2 separate regions of the Homo sapiens genome follow, and region 2 is linked to region 1. Evidence: promoter capture Hi-C in human tissues and cell types (Jung and others, 2019). All regions are on one chromosome and are shown on one strand. Each heading gives the region's core, a stretch centred on a gene start or on the middle of the fragment in contact. The rest is flanking DNA. Distances are from core to core; before and after follow the strand shown. Region 1 holds the start of GALNT8 (polypeptide N-acetylgalactosaminyltransferase 8). Region 2 overlaps GALNT8 (polypeptide N-acetylgalactosaminyltransferase 8).

The links. Contacts are between HindIII fragments. The study calls those that stand out against the background at their distance.
Region 2: a contact is called between a fragment that was not itself captured here and the fragment with the promoter of GALNT8 in region 1, in 1 of the 25 tissues and cell types used here (dorsolateral prefrontal cortex).

The regions. Positions count from the first base shown.
Region 1 is chr12:4,719,015-4,721,735 of GRCh38, forward strand. GALNT8 (polypeptide N-acetylgalactosaminyltransferase 8) reads left to right here and starts at 1,386. Exons shown (of 11, transcript NM_017417.2): 1 at 1,386-1,874. The coding sequence starts at 1,664. It overlaps GAU1 (GALNT8 antisense upstream 1), which reads right to left and starts at 1,088. Exons shown (of 4, transcript NR_110112.1): 1 at 851-1,088. RefSeq lists enhancers at 507-1,502, 1,503-2,498, 2,499-2,721. The HindIII fragment of the contact is 21,668 bases long and covers 1-2,721 here.
Region 2 is chr12:4,764,173-4,766,872 of GRCh38, forward strand. It overlaps GALNT8 (polypeptide N-acetylgalactosaminyltransferase 8), which reads left to right. Exons shown (of 11, transcript NM_017417.2): 10 at 1,207-1,374. Among named protein-coding and RNA genes, the nearest start is that of KCNA6, 44 kb to the right of the region's middle. RefSeq lists an enhancer at 1-103. The HindIII fragment of the contact is 3,209 bases long and covers 1-2,700 here.

The sequences.
Region 1 (2,721 bases), core at 136-2,635:
TTCTATCCCTGCGAAACAGAAGAAGTGATTCCTTTTCATTTTGTTCATTTTCATCCTGTTTTTCCTAAAGCCACATTACTTTCCTTTAATCCACATGTCCGCCTCAGCACATGTCACCATGTGCTGTGTTTGGGACGTAGTAAATAGTCCAAAGAGCCAGGCCGGGGTGGAAGCTGTGATTTTGACGGGATTGACAGTAGACTGAGAACTTTGAACTTTTAGCCTTGGGGAACAATTTTATGTGTTTATTCTACAATGATGATCACTGGTGATTTGTCCAAAACATATTATAAGTGTGAGGTGTGGAGGCAAAGGAGTTACTGGAAGCTGGGGCAGGGCAGAAGCCCAGTGTATGAAGTTGTGCAGAGGACAAGCAAAGGACAGAGACCAGTGAATCGGAGTCATCCCCTGAGGCTCAACCCCGGGCACCGCCTCCAGCTCTTCTCCACCTGCTTCTAGGCAGTGAAGTCCTAGGAACTAGCAAGAAAGTCTGTCCTTAAGTTTGTGGGACAAGCATTTGTTGCACACCTACTATGTCCAAAACCCTGTAGAGTTAGGTAAAAAGACATCTTAGATCCCAGCTCTCCAAAAAAGCAAGGATCTAAGTGTACAGAGACTTCTTGCTTCGTGATTTCTTCTTCATCCTATTTATCCCCTTCTTATACCCACAGGACCAGACCTCACATGCCCTATCAGAGTCTCCCAGGTGGTTTTTCCAGGGAGAGAGAACATTAAACATCAAACAAACATATATAGAGAAAAGCCTCTCACCCAGGCAGCCTGAGCTAGCTGCAGGAGCAAGCATTCTTCTGACTTCTGAGACAGTACAAGGTGTGTCCAGGTGACTTACCTGTCACTGGGCAGCTGCCATGCGCACTCCTCACACCTGACGCTGCTCAGGGAGAAGCCAGGCAGCTATAATAGTGTTCTTGGCCGGAGAACATCTGGCCTAGCAGGCAGGGTGTCATCTATGAAGCTGGGTGGAGAGAAAGCTGTTGGGGAAACCAGCCCCACACCACCCAGCGGATACCCCGAGTCCGGCGGAGACAAAGGAGTTAGAAAGAGACAGAACAAGCGTTTAAAAGGCAGGTCCAGGGGACCAGAGCGTTGGAGGCTTGCTCACGGCCCAGAGCTCTGGGCTCCACCCAATTTATTGGTTTACAAGCTCTTTGTTCTTAGGGCAGATGGGAAGGGGAGGAAGGGATGAGGAAAAGGATTAATCAGTGAGTCATTCGATAAGATGTGTAACAGTGGCGGTTTCTGTGAATTTCCTTGAGCAAAGGCGTGTGTCTAAACTACTTAAGATCTTTAATGACTGAAATGGGTGGGAGTGGGTTTCAGGAGGAGCCAAGATGTTTGATTATACTCCTCTGCTTCAAGGGAGTGTTATCTCCCTGAGCAACCTGTGGAAAGCCGCTGAGCAACCTGTGGAAAGCCGCTGAGCGGTTATCCTCTCGGGGCATAAAGACAAAGAAGGCAATAAGGAGACTTTGCTCCTCAGAGGCCACCCGTGGCTTCCCATGGGTGTCTCACACAGGGGAGACCAACTCAACTGGCACCTAGAACTCTCTTTCCCACAAAAGCTAGGCTGGTTCTGATTCTTAACCTGCTCCAGCAGTGACACACTCAGTCCCACAGGGAGTGGACGACCCCCAGGAAGAAGATGATGTTTTGGAGGAAACTCCCCAAAGCCCTCTTCATTGGGCTGACTCTGGCCATTGCTGTCAATCTCCTTCTGGTATTTTCTAGCAAGGGGACTTTACAAAACCTGTTTACGGGTGGTCTCCACAGGGAGCTTCCTTTACATCTGAATAAACGCTACGGGGCAGTGATAAAGAGACTCTCCCACTTGGAGGTGGAATTGCAGGATCTGAGTAAGTTTACAATGCTAACCTGGAAGGTGTGTGTGTGGGTGTGTGTGTTTGGGGCACTTAGGAAAAAGGGATATGGAAGGAAAAATGGGTGAGAGGTCACATTTTCATCTCAGTCGCTCATTGAAGCATCTGACACTGAATTCTGTGCCTTCAAATGGGAGATGGGTATTGAGAATGAAGTGAGTAGAAGTGGAAATTAGAGCAAGCAGTATGGGGGAGGTGAGCATGTGTGTGTGTATGCGTGTGTGGGCTTGTGCACATGCATTATCATTATATCTACATATGTGCAGGCAACGAGAAGAATAAGAATCCCAAGGGCCATAGACCTGTCCTTAGGCCTATTGAAGGGGTGGGTTGCACCTCCACACCTGTGGGTGTTTCTCGTTAGGTGGAACGAGAGACTTTGGAAGAGAAAAAGACACAGAAACAAAGTATGTAGAGAGAAATAAGGGGGCCCAGGGGACCAGCGTTCAGCATACGGAGGATCCCGCCAGCCTCTGAGTTCCCTTAGTATTTATTGATCATTCTTGGGTGTTTCTCGGAGAGGGGGATGTGTCAGGGTCATAGGATAATAGTGGAGAGAAGGTCAGCAGATAAACACGTGAACAAAGGTCTCTGCATCATAGACAAGGTAAAGAATTAAGTGCTGTGCTTTAGATATGCATACACATAAACATCTCAATGCCTTAAACAGCAGTATTGCTGCCCGCATGTCCCACCTCCAGCCCTAAGGCGGTTTTCTCCTATCTCAGTAGATGGAATATACAATCGGGTTTTACACCGAGACATTCCATTGCCCAGGGACGGGCAGGAGACAGATGCCTTCCTCTTGTCTCAACTGCAGAAA
Region 2 (2,700 bases), core at 32-2,531, 45 kb after region 1:
GGGTGAAATCCAGACCTGCACTTGTAACTGAGCACGTCTTAGTTTCTTCAGAAAGCCGTGGCAACGTAGTTCCATTTCAGTTACAGGGAGGATAGGTAGAAAAGCTATGCTCTGTCACATTCATTCTGCATGGTGATATTTGCATTGACAATCACCTCTGGTCCCTTCCTTTTCCCCTCCTCCCACTGCTCCCGCCATCTTCTCACTGCTACTGGAAAGCCTGGGAAAGTGGACAGGTGAAGCCACCTGTGCTTCTCCTATAGCGAAGGAAGCAGAGCTAGAGAGGATAGAGGCTGAGCAGACGCTCCTCCAAGGGATGGAAGGGCCCTGGCACCATGTGGAAGGTGCAGTCAGGGGATTTTTTTTTTTTTTTTTTTTTTTTTTTTTTTGAGACAGAGTCTCGATCTGTCGCCCAGGCTGGAGTGCAGTGGCGCGGTCTCAGCTCACTGCAAGCTCTGCCTTCTGGGTTCACGGCATTCTCCTGCCTCAGCCTCCCTAGTAGCTGGGACTACAGGCACCTGCCACCATGCCCGGCTAATTTTTTGTATTTTTTTTTTTTTTAGCAGAGACGGGGTTTCACCATGTTAGCCAGGATGGTCTCGATCTCCTGATCTCGTGATCCGCCCACCTTGGCCTCCCAAAGTGCTGGGATTATAGGCTGGAGCCGCCGCACCTGGCCTGGACATTTTTTTTTTTTTTTAGGGACAATATTCACATCTGTCTTCTTACTTTGCATGCTGCCCTCATAGCAACCTTTTGAGGCATGCACAATAGATATCATTTGCACTTAGTTGAAAAAATGGAGACACATTAATAACCTACTTGTCCAAGCTCACTGAGCAAGATAGTGTCAGACCAGGAATTTGAAAGGTTTTCTGACAACAAACCCATAGCTGAGGCCTGCAGTGACAGATTCTGGAGTTCAGTTTTGTTTTTTCTTCAAAGACAAGCTTCTTCATCCATGTAAGCTATGATTCTGTTGGAACCCTCCTAGGCCTGGCCTTCTCCCTGGATTCAAGGAGAGACTAAGGAGAAGGAAGCAGAGGTTGCTTCATGTTGTCCAGGAAGGTTCAGTGCTCTTGGTGTGACTGGGTGTCTAGGGGCCCCAAGATCATTCTTCCTGCTGTCCCTCGGGCTAGGGTCTCCTGCTGGCTGACAATGCCTATGGTGAGCCCTCTGCTTTTTTTTTTTTTTTTTTTTTTTTAGAATGTCTACTATCACCTAACTGGGGAGCTCTATGTGGGACAACTGATTGCAGAGGCCAGTGCTAGTGATCGCTGCCTGACAGACCCTGGCAAGGCGGAGAAGCCCACCTTAGAACCATGCTCCAAGGCAGCTAAGAATAGACTGCATATATATTGGGATTTTAAACCGGTGAGTTATGTGTTTTTGTTTGTTGGTTTGTTTGTTTTGTTTTGTTTTGTTTTGAGACTGAGTCTTGCTCTGCAGCCCAGGCTAGAGTGCAGTGGCTTCTCAGCTGACTGAGGCTACTGACAGAAAAGAGATTTGGGTTGGCTGTGAGATCTGGAAGGCAGGACATCCAGGGAAATTCTGCCAACCATTCTAACCTACAGTCTGGGTCCATTTCTATGGCCACTATGTCAAGAACACAAAAATTGAAAAGGGAGGTGATCATGTAATTTCTGGTGTGTTACCTAATATTGCAGTCTTGGCTCACTGCAACCTCTGCCTCCCAGGTCCTGGTTCAAGCAATTCTCCTGCCTCAGCCTTCTGAGTAGCTGGGATTACAGGCACATGCCACCATGCCCAGTTAATTTTTGTGTCTTTGGTAGAGACGGGGTTTCACCATGGCTGGTCTTGAATTCCTGACTTCGTGATCCGCCCGACTCAGCCTCCCAAAGCGCTGGGATTACAGGTGTGAGCCACTGTGCCTGGCGAGTTACATGTTTTTTAAATGATAGGTATATGAAAGGTTCAGATTTGATTTGATAGTGTTTTAGGAGAATTACTTCTTGTGGCCCCGTGTAGGGAAAATATTGGAAACAGGGAACTGGTAAGAAACACTGAGTCTCTTGACTAAGGCAGGGTGGTTAAGGAGAAGAAATATTGGAGTCTGTTGTAGCTGAACGGTTGAGAGTTTGGGCACAAGTCCTAGCTCAGTATAGCAATTTCCTTACCCTCTCTGAAGCTCAGTTTCCTCATTATAAAATGATGGAGATGATAATATCTTCTGTATGCGACTTTTGGGAGGATTAAATGAGATAGCGTGTGTAAAGCATTTCACGTGGTGCCTGGAGCAGAAGAGTGTTCAATACGCATTAGCCATTGTGATCCATTTATTATTAATGATTATCAGAGGGTGTGGAATACTATGCTGAAATCTGACAGAGGCTAATGTAGAAGCTCTGCCTTTAACTTCAATATCAAATGACCAAGGACAGGGCGGAGGGAATCTGGCAGAATTCATGTGATGATGACGCGAGGGTCTTGGCTGACAACAGTCTGTGGGGAATTTATAATGGATGGGCTTGCTCCAAAAGCTTCTGCACTCTTGGGCCAATTCATTAGGAAGGGGCAGTACCTCCTGGAGGGAGCTACTGCTCTGTCTCTGACTGTGTCTCTGAATGCGGTACTATGCTTGGTTCAGGTGCCACACGGACAATCTAGTTCAACAGTTTCTAACTTTTCAAAGTTAATGACCCCTTTGAGAATTCATTGCTAGCTATGGAGTCTCTCTCC